5 separate regions of the Homo sapiens genome follow, and all the other regions are linked to region 5. The links are contacts of gene promoters, found by promoter capture Hi-C in blood cells and fetal thymus (Javierre and others, 2016). All regions are on one chromosome and are shown on one strand. The core of a region is centred on a gene start or on the middle of the fragment in contact, and the rest is flanking DNA. Distances in the headings are between cores, read along the strand shown.

Region 1 (2,700 bases), core at 47-2,546, 1.8 Mb before region 5:
AAGTGCACTCAATGTTTAGCTACTACTTATAAGTGAGAACATGTGGTATTTGGTTTTCTGTTCCTGAGTTGGTTTGCTTAGGATAATGACCTCCATGTCCATCCATGTTGCCACAAAGGACATGATCTCATTATTTTTTATAGCTGCATAGCATTCCATGGTGTACATGTACCACATTTTCTTTACCCAGTCTACCGTTGATGGGAATTTAGGTTGATTCCATGCCTTTACTATTGTGAATACTGCTGTGATGAACACACGTGTGCATGTGTCTTTATGGCAGAATAATTTCTATTCCTTTGGATATGTACCCAATAATGGGATTGCTGGGTCAAATGATAATTCTGTTTTAAGTTGTTTGAGAAATTGCCAAACTACTTTCCACAATGGCAGAACTGATTTACATTCCCATCAGCAGTATATAAGCACTCCCTTTTCTCTGCAGCCTCACTAGCATCATACACAGTTTTCTTTATTGAAAATATTTTTGGAGCTTTTGATATACCCACAGGCACTGTAAATCAACAAAAGGGGCACTCTGTCCTCAATTACATCATTCTTCAAAATTTTTTAACCACGTGGTGCTTTTTTAGGAGCATGTGAGGAGAATAACATCCCAGGAGAGTCCTACTCTAAAAAGATACTGCTGTTTGGGACAATATAGATATAATGCAATATCATATAGGAAGTTGTCTTTTTGTATATTTTTAAAACATGTTACTTTTGTGCTTTGGAGTTGCCCTAAATAAATATGTTGTAAACCTTTGTGAGTATCTGCTTATTCGGCTTAATAACCCTTTTGTGGCTTTTGAATAATGTAAGAATTTGATTCATTATTTAGAAATCTGAGTTGCTGCAGCAATGAACCAGATATTACATTTAATCGAGACTGCCAATACTGCACAGATTGCCAGCCTCACAGGACATCAGACCTAACTGAACTTTCCTGCTAGTTTTAGAAAAAAAGACAGAAAAATAATTCACTTCCAAAAGTTAGAGAAAACACTTTGCCAATTACTAGTGACCCTTGATGTGACTTTTAATTTATAGAAAGGCCCAGATTAATTGTTTTCAAACCAAAAGCTATGACTCTTAGCTAGCACTTTAATTTTACACAAATCTTCTCCTCCATCTTGACTGTGAGATCGTACCTATAGAGTGATAAGCCTTCTAATGATGCCTGGCATAGTGTCAGCTTTTGAAGCCATATACTGTGTATGTTTTGGAACTAAATATTTCTTCTTTCCATTGACTCTTGACCCCCTTAGAACAACTGTCACCTTCTTCAAATGCTTTCACTAAGTAAAAAGTCAATTGGCTGTAAGTGGTGATGAAGAAAATGTCGTGTGATTAATGCTACAGTTTAGGCTGTTGTGATTAGTCACAGGAAAAACAGTTAAACTTCCTCCCCCAAGAAACATGGTATGTTAACGGCAAATGGCCTGCCTCAAGCCCAATAGGAAGAAATAGTTGGGCAGTGTTAAAAGCTGCCTATTGATTTGTGCCCCGACTGAAAGCCATGTGCTGATGTAAATGAAAATGTGTCAAGAGTTGATATCGATTTTTTTTTTAAATCAGACCATCTCTGGGGAAATACTGCTAGCCATACTACTGCTCGTCTATGAGTGAAATAAGGTTCCTTTCCACAAGACTACACATGTCCAGACATCAAATTTTTCTCTTTAACCGAGGTGTGGTAGGATGCCTCTCTATCGTCTGCAATCTCTGCGTGGAGAACGTGACCCAGAGACTATAAAGATTGTCTTGATGAAAGACATGTATGTGGGGAAGGGTGTGAGCTCATGCCACCTATCTACACATTGGTCTGTTTGTGTATGGTTCGTAACACACATGTAGGCTTCAGCTAGGAATTGTCATCCTATGTCTCCTAGAATAAATCATTGTAGAAGAATAAATTTATTTTTAGAAAATTCTATCCAGAGAGAACCACAATATAGGATAAAAGGTAAAACATATTAGAATATGAACCATGAAGTTGGGGTCTTTCTTTTCCTTCAGACTGTAGGAAAACTAGCCACATTTTTTTCCATTTCTTAGGAGTTATTCCCTGAGCTGTACCTTATTCATAGACTGCAGTGCTTGTAAATATTGACTAACTATATATGAAAAGGCCAAGAGTCATAATAATCATGCAGCTTTGGGTCATATCTGTGGGGATTTCAGCTGCCTAGGTAAGGCTGCACTCCTGATTCAGCTGGGATAAAGCATGGACGCTAATATTAGGCTATTAGAATGGAAAATTAGTGTGGAAGAGGAGAGGGGTCATCACCTAGCAATATATGTGGATTATTTGGAATCAACTACTGGGATTAGAGAAAATCCTAATAAACTAATAAGGGATATGGTCTTTCCCTCCATGCTAGCTTAGAGAGCTGAATCCACTTAGTTTGATTTATTGGCCTTAGGTACAGACACATGATGAAAACTTCACTTTGCAAATTGATTAACTTTTTGTTGATTACTCAATGACTTTTGCAGTACTCTAAATTTTATGATCTGTGTGCCTTGTGCTCCAGATTAAAGGAAAAACAATGATCTGAAATAGACCTTAGGGAATAGGAATTACTATGATGAGACAATTTTATACTGAAAGTTCTGCATTAAAATTTAGGAATCTGTAACAAAAACTTTCAGAAGACAGTTTGTTACTAGTAACTGGGAAGACAAATGAGGTCTTAC
Region 2 (2,700 bases), core at 147-2,646, 1.7 Mb before region 5:
AATTAATGCTAGGCAATATATGTGAATATGTGAATTATTTTCAGTTACATGTAGACATTTAGAGAAGAGGGGAAGTTAGAATAAGACTCAGTCTGGAAGTCTTGTGGAAGAATTGTGTCATACGTGAAATTGAGCTCTTCGGAACAAGGAAGATTAGGATAGAAAAAAGGACGAGAGGTCGTGAACAAAGATTTAGAATTGAAAACTCTTGTAGTGAGTGATTTCATTGATGAAATCACTGGATGTTTTATCATGGAAAAGGAGAGAAAGTAGAGTTTATGAACATATGGATTTGACTTTTTACTCGAACTGTTTCCACTAAAATAAGGAGTGATTAAATCATAGTTGATATGCCTGTGTAATGCTTTTAAAGGAGTTTGAATTAGTTTTGAGATTGATTACTGTTTTCTAAAACACATATAAGTTTGGGTTAGTTTTGGAATTTATATATTTTGTTCTGGTAGACTTGGTTCTTTTGAGGGGACCGATAGGGGAATTTGTATATTTGTTTGATAATACTGATATAACCGGTTGTAATTCCACAGTTCTGACATTTATTTCTCTTCACAGAGGCCCCATAAAGCCACTGCCGAAGAAATGACAAAATATCACAGTGATGAGTATATCAAATTTCTACGGTCAATAAGACCAGATAACATGTCTGAGTATAGTAAGCAGATGCAGAGATGTACGTTTCTAAGTAAAAAGTAGTTTTGCTTTGATAAATGTAAATTAGTATTTTTAGGAGCTTAGAATGATCTAAATCTGAATATTTTTCCTGTTGGTCTAATATGTTACAGTTATTTACTGATTTGAAAAGTCATTTTAACACTACTAAAGCTACTTAAGAAAAAAGTAAACCTATCTGAAGCTTATTGGTTTGCAAAACTGCTGTTTGGGTATTCTTCTACTCCTAGTTTGCTCCCCTGATAACTTTGGGTTAATACATATTGGTAGGGAGACCTCACTCCCTTACTCCCTCGCTTCAAAAAAACAAAAACAAGATTACACTTTGATTAGCCTTAGCTTGGCATGTACATATCTCTTGTCTTGTCTTTGTGTACTTCAGTTAACCTGGACTATAATACACATCTCTTTTTCTTTGTTAAGATATTAGTGAAGCTTTTGATTCTACGTAATGTTCTCTTGTACAGGTTAAAAGTATTTTATTTTTAGAGATTAGTAACAAATTGGCTTGAAGGTAGAATGCAAAAGTCAACCTAAAATTATTGGAACAGTATCTTTTAAAGCTTGATACCAAAGTTCATTCTCATTAGTGTTTGTATTGACTGACTTCAGTGATGATTATACTAAATTAGTGTAGGTGCTAGACATCTCATATTTACAACCTCATACACATTTCTGCCATATCTTGTTTGATTTGTTATAATGCTACAATGTAACTAGAACATGTAGTATTTAATTTTTTTTTTTTCAATGAAGATTCCAACTTAGATGCAAAAGAGGCATGAGTAGCCCTTGGGCAAACAACATAACAGGATTGATTTAAAACCCACATAATAATGAGTTCTATTAAGCTTATGATCCTGGCCAGGTGTGGTGGCTCACGCCTGTAATCCCAGCACTTTGGGAGGCGGAGGTGAGTGGATTACCTGAGGTCAGGAGTTCGAAACCAGCCTGGCCAACATGGCAAAACCCTGTCTCTATTAAAAAAGTACAGAAAATTAGCTGGGTGTGGTGGTGCGCGCCTGTAATCCCACTACTCTGTAGGCTGAGACAGGAGAATTGCTTGCTTGAGCCCCAGAGGTGGAGGTTGCAGTGAGCCAAGCTCACGCCATTGCACTCCAGCCTGGGCGACAGAGTGAGACTCTGTCTCCAAAAAAAAAAAAAGATTATGATCTCTCTGTGCAGTAAGAAACTAAAATTCATTTCTTATAGTGCTTGTGACTTAAGGGTATACAAAGATATTAATATACAAAACAAGGACCCTTATTCTTGAAGAGGTTACAATTCAAGGGCATAGGGAAAGACTAAGAAAGGGTTACATACATCTGCCATATCCTTTCATTCTCTCAGTGCTAAGGAACTAAATGTGTGATCGTTTATCTGTAAATGTTTTCCTTGTTGTCTTTAGTATCCTATGTTTTGGCTCCCATGAACCTAGTTAATTCTTAGCAACTTTCAAGATCAAGATTAGCCATGGGAATAGGCAACCAGCTGTTACATCTTTTTGGTTTAGTAACTTACTGACATGCATTTCAAAGTTACAGATATTATAGGTATTTAAGGAGTTTCAAAGAAAGTAAATTATAAAGCAATTGAAGTTGCTTTTAGAATGTTAACTTATTGTAATATTAAGGGGAAAGGCCTAGAAAATTTAAGCCTGTGTTTTAATTAAATAAGAATTGTTGTACTTAGACAACTATTGAGTTCTTGTTAATAGACAGAAATATTCCACAGATAATCCTGATAAGATTTGATGATCTTTCACAGATAACACTTTAATTACCTTGGATAAAACAATAAATATATTTTAAAGTTGGAAACTTTATATTATACTGTGAAGTGTATGTTTGATGATTGCATCAAGCAAAAAAGTATTTGTGGGAAATAGTTTTTGTAAGAAAAGGCTTTCATTAATTTGCAGAATGTGTTGAAATTAATGAAATCCATCTTCCACAGTTAATGTTGGAGAAGATTGTCCAGTGTTTGATGGACTCTTTGAGTTTTGTCAGCTCT
Region 3 (2,700 bases), core at 56-2,555, 1.7 Mb before region 5:
TTTATTTTCAAATGGCTTTTTCGTTTTTGTTTTTCTTGGCAAGTTTTATTGTGAGTTTTTCTAATTATGAAGCAAAATTTCTTTTCTCCACCATGCTTTATGTGATAGTATTTAAAATTGATGTGAGTTATTATGTCAAAAAAACTGATCTATTAAAGAAGTAATTGGCCTTTCTGAGCTGATTTTTCCATCTTTTGTAATTATCTTTATTAAAAAATTGTACTTGGATTATCTTTTGTCTGTTTATTACTACAATATGAAGTCTTGTTTCAGTGGCTAATGACATCATTTCTGTAGACTTACAATACACTCTAGGTGAAAGATAATGATTACAGCTTGAAAGATAACTATTTGCTGTTTCTTTGGGAAGAGTATTTATAGTAATTATTACTTATCTTTGCAATAGAAATTCTACCACCTTGCCCTCTATAGCTTAGCCAGTTAGTATCAGTGAAGATTAACATCCCATTACAATTTATGAAATAATACAGACTCTGCAATTGAGATGTAGGAGTTCTTTGAGTTGACCCAAAGATTCTCAAAATTGAAATGGAAATTCTGAATTGAAAGAAGAAACTGACCAGAACTTGTATTGACCAGACTTGCCTATAGTATATTGCTGGTTTAAAATGGAACCTGCAGACAAAACCTGTTTCTTTTACTGCATTTACATGGCATCCAGGTTCCATTATTATTTACGTGACATCCAGGTTTCTAACTCAAGGAAATAAACACAACTGATTTATCATTCAGCAACTACTTATTGTGTGTCTGCCCATTTTAAGACTGTAGGAGTGTAACTGAATATAATGGAAAAATGCTTTCACTCAGAGCTTACACTCAGAGCTTACATTCTAGTAGCAGGAAGCAGACAAATGGGGGTAACTCCTGCTACTAAGATGTGCAAAGAAGACAAAACATTTTAGGAACTTGCCAAAATCAGTGAAATCTCCCTTTTTGTCAGGCCCACATTGATTCTTTTGAGATTAAAAATTACAGAATGCCAGAAGATAATTCAGTCAAAAGTATTTCTCTTCAGTGCAGTAAAATATTAAAAGAAAAAATATTTCTCTACAAGCCTCTTAAATGTTTCAGACATTCACAATAGCACCTAGACTTTTGTAATGAACAGCTGTGCACCCACCCCGACTTAACAAATATTTTACTTTTGCTATATTTGCTTCGGTGTTTTTTTCTTAAAATACACCGAAATTGAAGCTCTCTTTGTGTACTTTGTCGTTTGTAATCCTCCCTCCCTCCCAGCCTTAAGAAGTAATCACCATTGTGATTATTTTATCCATGTTTTTGTGAATATTTTACCCATGTTTTTGTACTTTTGCTACATATTTGTTATCAATCTGTAAACCTTTATGACATTAGGAACTAAGAAACTTAGTCCCTTCGTTAGGGGGATAATGAAATGTATTTAGTGTTTGTGAAACATAGATGGTATGTATTTGGACAATTCTGTAACTTTGCTTTTTTTATTTTTATTTTTCCATAGCTTATTGGGGAACAGGTGGTGTTTGGTTACATGATTAAGTTCTTTAGTGGTGATTTGTGGGATTTTGGTGGACCCATCACCCAAGCAGTGTACACTGCACCCTATTTGTAATCTTTTATCCCTCGCCCCCCTCCCACCATGCCTCCCGTCTACCATGATGATCCTGTTTTAAATAAGAAAATACCATTTCGCAGGCTCCAGATGTTCTGGCATCCTCCCTGTGGATTTCCCAGTGCCTGCAGCTCACAGGACAACAGGGGCTGTGGTAGAGTCACCTATGAGATCCTGGAGTAGTGGATGGAGGAGATGGAACAGTGAAGACGGAAACTGAGCTCAGTATCCGGGTGCCAGGAGACAAAGGCCCTTTGCTTTTTTTCATTTAATATTCTGATCTACCCCTGTTGACACATGTTAAGTATAGTTCATTTTGACTGCTATGTATTATGTTCCATTGTGTGAACATACTGAAATTGTACACTTCAATACTATACTGGATCTCCTTGGGTGTATTTAAGAGGTTTTGTTTTTCTAAGTAGTTGGTTATATACAACTAAAACCTCAAGAGAACTATCTAAAGCAATTTCAGCAAGGTGATTTGGTACAGCATTAATAAACAGAAATCAGTAACACTTAGTGACCAAGTCTGTTGGAAGAACAAAGACCCCCATTTGTAATAACAAAATTTTTAGAAATAATATGTAAAGAAGCTATGGTTCTTGTGTCTAGTAAGGTCAATGTAACATAGTAAGATGTCAGAATACCCTAATACTTTAAAAAATTCATATAGGATAAAAATGATATTTGAAATTGGCAAGGAAAGACATTATTTTGTAAGTGGAATTGGGACAACAACTGGTAACCAAATGGAAAACCCAGTTTTCTGCCCTCCACTAGAAGATTTAAATAGGAAAAGATAAAACTACCAAAAACCTAAACTCTTAAAGCAAATGGATTGAAGAAGGCCTAAGTGTGACACCAAACTCAACTATAAAAGATATATTTGATAACAAAAAAAAAATTAGTTCAGTGGACCAACAAAAACTTAGAAGACAAGTCAAGAAAAATGACAAAAGACAGAGTGGGAGGCAGATTTGTAACTCATCCAGGTCAAAAGGCTCATATCTAAAGATAGTAGAGGAACAAAATGTATAAGGATGTGAACTGGGAAACAAATACATATAAATAGTTTGTAAATA
Region 4 (2,700 bases), core at 32-2,531, 1.6 Mb before region 5:
ATCTTATAAAATTACCAACAGATTACTGCTTCAGCCTGCCAGCACTTTCAGTGCCAGCCAGCCTGTTTTTGTTTTTCTTTGTTTGTTTTCCACTGCAATAGGTTGCAATTTAGAGTAAGTCTTTGTGGACTATGAATGAAAATAGAGTTTCACACTCAATTGATAAGCTTTGACAAATGAAAAAACACATACATGGTATATTTGGGACAATAAACAGGAACCTAGAAAACTAGGGATTCATCTCTCCCTTTCCTTTACCTTAATAATATGAGACAAATGTAATAAAACTCTGTCCTACCCCCATCATAATGCTGTACATGTAAGGAATGCCAAAGAAGTATATGATATTTCTTGCCCTTCATGGTGGATAAATGTCAGAAATTGTATCACAATGACCATGGTACAAATAATTCACCAGGACAGAAAAGAAAAAGAGGTTAAAAGTTTCTATTTGCATATATTTCAATGCATTTTGAAGTCCAAAGGATACAAGTTACATAACATATAAGTTAGATGCATTTCCGCAAATGCAAAAATAAATATCTTAGTGCTACCTCTGCTTGCTGTTGCTCACATTCTCAATTTTCCCCAGTGTCTCCTTCAGCTATCGCTCAATGACTTCTCTAAGTTACATTTTATAGATTCCTCAAAGAATCGTTGCTTCTGTGAGGTTACCTAAACCAGGATCCCATAAAATTAAGACAATGAGACAGGAACTGCTGAGAGCACCGCAGGTGGCAGAGCAGCTCTCAAATCACCAGAGGTTGATGCCACCAAATGGCTCCAGGCCTGAGCTTCTTCCACGTGCTCCTACCTACTTTCTACCTCAAGGGAACTGTTCATTTTTTAAAAAAACAGGTTTACTGCTATTGCTATCCAAACAGCTATGCACTATTTTTTCTACTCTATTCTATGTCCTTCCTCTGGATGCATTTTGAAATTCTGTTTTGAAAGCATTTAGATATTTGGAGAGCATAAAGTTTTTAAGATTTAAATCAGTTTTGTCTTCACTAGTGATTATTTCCTTTTATTTTTAATTGACATAATAATTGTACATACTTATGGGGTACCATGTGATATTTTGACACACCTACACACTGTGTAGGGATCGAATCAGGGTAAATAGCAAATTCATCACCTCAAAACTTTATTTCTTTGTGTTGGGAGCATTCAAAATCCACTCTTGTAGGTTTTGAATATAAATTATTCACAAAAATTGAAAGTAAATTTTTGTTAGTTATAGTCATTCTATAGTGCCATAGAACACTAAGATTTATTCCTCCTATCTAGCAGTAACTTAGTATTTGCTAATCAACCTCTGGCTAGCTCCCTACCACCCCACCCCTAACACACACAACTTTCCCAGCCTCTAGGAGCCACTATTCTACTCTCTACTTCCATGAGGTCAACTTTTTTGCCTTCCATAAATGAGTGAGAACATGCAGTATTTGTCTCTCTATGCCTGGATTATTTCACTTAATATAATATCCTCCAAGGTTCTCATTTTAACCAGACAACATGTCCTGGTATAGAATGTGAATTTAGATTTAGCAGGTCAACTTTTATTTCAACACTGTGGAGTTTGGAAAGCACCCAAGAAGTCAACAAGAAATCAAACATTTTAAGAAGCCTGGGGCAAGTGCATTTAAGTCCATTTTCCCATCTATCACCAGGGCACTGGGCGAGGCCACACAGGCTCTGTCCTGCACAACTTCAAGGAACATGCAAAGAGGCAGCCTGTGTATAACATGACGAAGGATGGACAAATTAACTGATCTTCAAATCCCTTTGAACTGAAATTAAATCATTCTGACAATGGATACTCCAGTATTTCTCTGTATCTTCTTCACATTTGCTTTTTAAAATGTCATTTTTTAACATATATTGTTTTAATAACTGTTCTGGATTAAATTTGGTTTAGAAATAATTTTCAGTTTGTTTGTGTGCTGCTTTATGTAATAAAATGAGATAGTAAATATTTAAAATGTTAATGAGTTTTAAAACATTATAAACCTCAGGAAAATCAAAATCTAGTAACTCATCTGTCAGGCCATAGGCACGGTGATTTAAATTGAGATCACTAACAAATGTAAATGGATTATTAGATGTCAAATACTTTTACTTTCCATTGTAATTCAAATTGAATGTGGGTAAGGCTTAAACATCACCATAAACACTATTTGCTCTAGAGTGAACCTCCTTATAAGAATTACTGGTCTTGGAACTCAACCAAGGGAACTTAGTTACTGAATTGCTATCAGGAGACCCAGGGTGAAGTGATTCTCCCTGTTAAGTGACTCTAATAGTGGTAGAATCCAGCTCTTTTGTTTTAGGCAGTAGTATATTTATGTCAAATCATTATACTTCATATCCAAAAAAGATGCAGGGAAGCTTCCAAGTTTACTAATGCCATCTTGACTGACATTGAGTAAGTTCTCCTTTCTTTGCAATTTTCAGCTCAATAGTATCTTACAGCGCAATGTGCCAGGAAGTCTACCAACTTGAAACTAAGCCTTTCCTGCTATAAATTAAACGTGTTTCCTCCTTGGTACAAACCAAATGCTTAATTATCTCTCTCCTCTTTCACAATCCCTTCATAGAGGCCAGGGCTCTTTGATCTTGCTATTTTTTTCCACCTCTAGAAATGGGCATTATTTTAAAACTTCCACCAGTTTTATGGTTCATCTGGAGTCTACACCA
Region 5 (2,700 bases), core at 13-2,512:
AATTCATACTCTTTATTTTAAAGTTGCAGTGTCGTGTATACAGATGTAAAAGAGAGCTTTGGAATCAGTGAGGCCTGGATCCAAACCCCATCTCTGCTTTCCACCAGCTGTGCGACCTTGGGCAAATGTCCTAGTCTCTCTGAACCTCACTTTCTTCTTCTGTAAAAGGAAAATAATGGTACTACTTTGCAGGAATGCTGAGGTTTACAAATAGCATATGCCAAGTATCTGGCACATGTTAGGTGCAAAATAAATGGTTTTGCTTACACTTAGATAAAATGACTTTTGTTCTATGAAATGGAGCTAATGATTAGGTTTTATGGAAAGGCTTTATTTATTTATTTTATGATTAGGTTATACAAAAATGCTTTATTTCACCTGGAAGCTTACCTGGGTGTCATTTTATGGTTGTCTCATCTGACCATTTTTAAACCATGGTTGGATCTTGTGGAAATGTTTAGAGCTCGTTATGAAGCCAATGTAAACAAAGGTACCTATCAGCTGTTGCAGACACTATCCCATCCACAGGGGCACCCCTGACATAGCTGTAGCCCAACTTCACCCTGAAGTCTTGGAAAGGTTACATGATTCAGACAGATGTAGTAGGCATGAGATTACAGGCCAAGAGGAAGAGGCCGGGGCTGTAGGCAGTATACTTGACAGGCTCATACACTGCAAGCCTTGTTCCGGGCCCCTTACAAAGCACCTCTTTAGGATGAAAACAAGATGGTCTTTGTAAATAAAAGTTCATGCATTTGGGTAATGAAGTCATTTTCCAGCGCTGCAGTGAAAGATATTCTTCTCCCAAGCCCTCTGGGTGAGGACTGGAGGGAGGAAGAGGGGTGGCCAGTGAATCTGAAGAGAAGATATTAGCACAAAGAGTGCAACAGTCTATCCCCCAGAAAAAACCCGAGAAACCTTGCTCAAGAAAGTGGGCACCCTGACCCTCTGCCTTCAGAGATCATCTACCTTTGGTTCCTGCCCTGGAATCCCTTTTCCACCCACTTTCCTGCAAACTAGCGGGGGCCACATAAAATATCTATGTAAATATAGATAAGACATCCGGTACCTTGACTACATAAATAAGAGTGGTGAGGAAGCGTCACAAAAGCTGAATATTCTTCTGGAGCCCTTGGAGGGGCTCCAAACTGAGAGGGGAGGGAAGACCGCAGGGAAAGGCGGACCTCAGTGTCTGAAAAGCCAGCTTAGAGTGGGAGGGCCTGGGAGTAGAAGGTAAAAAGGGAGTGGTGAGAATGAATGTGAGAAGGAAGCCAGGACAGCGCAGTCCCCAGTCCCGAACGGCCAGGGAGAGGAGGTGGCCTAGCGCTGGCGGGGCTCACCCCAATCCGTCTGCCTTTTGATGCCGTACTGTAAGCTCCGTCCATCTGTAGGTTCTTGAGCCAGAACCTCTGCGGGAAGGAGAAAAAGTGAAAGAGGGAGAGGGAGAGGGAGAGAGAGGGGGAGAAGGGGAGAGAGAGAGAGGGAGAGAGAGGCTGGAACTCTCCCTTACTCTCGCACTTTCCCTTTATTTCCTAAGCTGCTGGTTGCGCAGCCACCTCGGGATACTGCACACGGAGAGGAGGGAAAATAAGCGAGGCACCGCCGCACCACGCGGGAGACCTACGGAGACCCACAGCGCCCGAGCCCTGGAAGAGCACTACTGGATGTCAGCGGAGAAATGGCTTTGAGCTCAGCCTGGCGCTCGGTTCTGCCTCTGTGGCTCCTCTGGAGCGCTGCCTGCTCCCGCGCCGCGTCCGGGGACGACAACGCTTTTCCTTTTGACATTGAAGGGAGCTCAGCGGTTGGCAGGCAAGACCCGCCTGAGACGAGCGAACCCCGCGTGGCTCTGGGACGCCTGCCGCCTGCGGCCGAGGTACAGTGTCCCTGCCATTGCCACCCTGCTGGGGCACCTGCGCCCCCGCGGGCTGTGCCACACTCGTCCTTCTCTCTCTCTCCGCCTCTTTCCTCTCCCCAGTGCCTTGAGAGTTTCACCTGGGCTAGGTCAGTTCGGAAACTTGAAATAAAGAGTTTTCCTTTGTAAGTTGCATTTGGATGTTGAGAGTTGAAAGTTGAGGCTTCGGAATGTGTCTGCTCAAAGGGGTGAGAGTGCATGTGTTGGTGCTCTGAGTTCATCCGCTAGACTCTCACCGGGGACTGCAGCAGCACATCGGTGACTTCTGCCACTTGCGTGTCCCAGTAGTCATTTTGTCAAGCCACGGCACTTAACGTGTGTGCCCTGTCACTGGCTTCCTGCTCCTCTGTGCTGTTAGGACAGTGGGAACACTACTGCAGGATCTTTTTGTCTCATATTAGACAAGAAGTCTTCTGCAGCAGGGAAGGTGAGGGGGTGAGTGAGAGTGGCTGGTCATGAAAGGAGCTGTTAGACAACTGCTGAGAGGGTATCTTAAGTAGAAACGAGCCATTGTATTCCAGAAACAAGATGTTTCCATTAAAATCAAGCCTCAGGATATGCTATTGATAATATGTTTATTCAAAGAGCTGCTGTTTGAATACCTTACAATAGCTTTTAAGTTGGAAACAAAACCAGAATGTAGAGGTCTGGTAAAGGAGAATGAATCCAGAACAAGTGATTTAAGAACCCCTGAACTGAAACAGACAACAGCATGCCCATTGCATGGGACATGCTAAGAGGGAGGAAAATAAAGTCACCTAAGTTCATGGGAAAGGAAGGAGCAATTG

The links. The method cuts DNA at HindIII sites, captures the fragments that hold promoters and counts their contacts. A CHiCAGO score of 5 or more calls a contact.
Region 1: a contact is called between a fragment that was not itself captured here and the fragment with the promoter of LAMA4 in region 5, in 1 of 17 cell types (total B cells). The highest score is 5.5, in total B cells.
Region 2: a contact is called between a fragment that was not itself captured here and the fragment with the promoter of LAMA4 in region 5, in 1 of 17 cell types (total B cells). The highest score is 5.0, in total B cells.
Region 3: a contact is called between a fragment that was not itself captured here and the fragment with the promoter of LAMA4 in region 5, in 6 of 17 cell types (total B cells, naive B cells, non-activated CD4 T cells and 3 more). The highest score is 14.1, in total B cells.
Region 4: a fragment that was not itself captured here is called in contact with the fragment with the promoter of LAMA4 in region 5 in 8 of 17 cell types (total B cells, naive B cells, naive CD8 T cells and 5 more); the score reaches 14.5 in total B cells.

Annotation. Positions count from the first base shown.
Region 1 is chr6:114,099,310-114,102,009 of GRCh38, reverse strand. All of the region lies in intron 3 of HS3ST5 (heparan sulfate-glucosamine 3-sulfotransferase 5), which reads left to right. All of the region lies in intron 5 of HDAC2-AS2 (HDAC2 and HS3ST5 antisense RNA 2), which reads right to left. Among named protein-coding and RNA genes, the nearest start is that of HDAC2, 130 kb to the right of the region's middle. The HindIII fragment of the contact is 5,243 bases long and covers 1-2,700 here.
Region 2 is chr6:113,956,637-113,959,336 of GRCh38, reverse strand. It overlaps HDAC2 (histone deacetylase 2), which reads left to right. Exons shown (of 14, transcript NM_001527.4): 3 at 571-688; 4 at 2,644-2,700. Among named protein-coding and RNA genes, the nearest start is that of HDAC2-AS2, 12 kb to the left of the region's middle. The HindIII fragment of the contact is 288 bases long and covers 1,253-1,540 here.
Region 3 is chr6:113,938,245-113,940,944 of GRCh38, reverse strand. It overlaps HDAC2 (histone deacetylase 2), which reads left to right. Exons shown (of 14, transcript NM_001527.4): 14 at 1-2,700. Among named protein-coding and RNA genes, the nearest start is that of HDAC2-AS2, 30 kb to the left of the region's middle. The HindIII fragment of the contact is 4,520 bases long and covers 1-2,700 here.
Region 4 is chr6:113,881,479-113,884,178 of GRCh38, reverse strand. It overlaps LOC124901382 (a long non-coding RNA gene), which reads right to left. Exons shown (of 3, transcript XR_007059716.1): 2 at 1-2,700. Among named protein-coding and RNA genes, the nearest start is that of MROCKI, 9.5 kb to the right of the region's middle. The HindIII fragment of the contact is 2,224 bases long and covers 170-2,393 here.
Region 5 is chr6:112,253,129-112,255,828 of GRCh38, reverse strand. LAMA4 (laminin subunit alpha 4) reads left to right here and starts at 1,262. Exons shown (of 39, transcript NM_001105206.3): 1 at 1,262-1,370; 2 at 1,538-1,873. The coding sequence starts at 1,679. All of the region lies in intron 2 of LAMA4-AS1 (LAMA4 antisense RNA 1), which reads right to left. The HindIII fragment of the contact is 4,256 bases long and covers 388-2,700 here.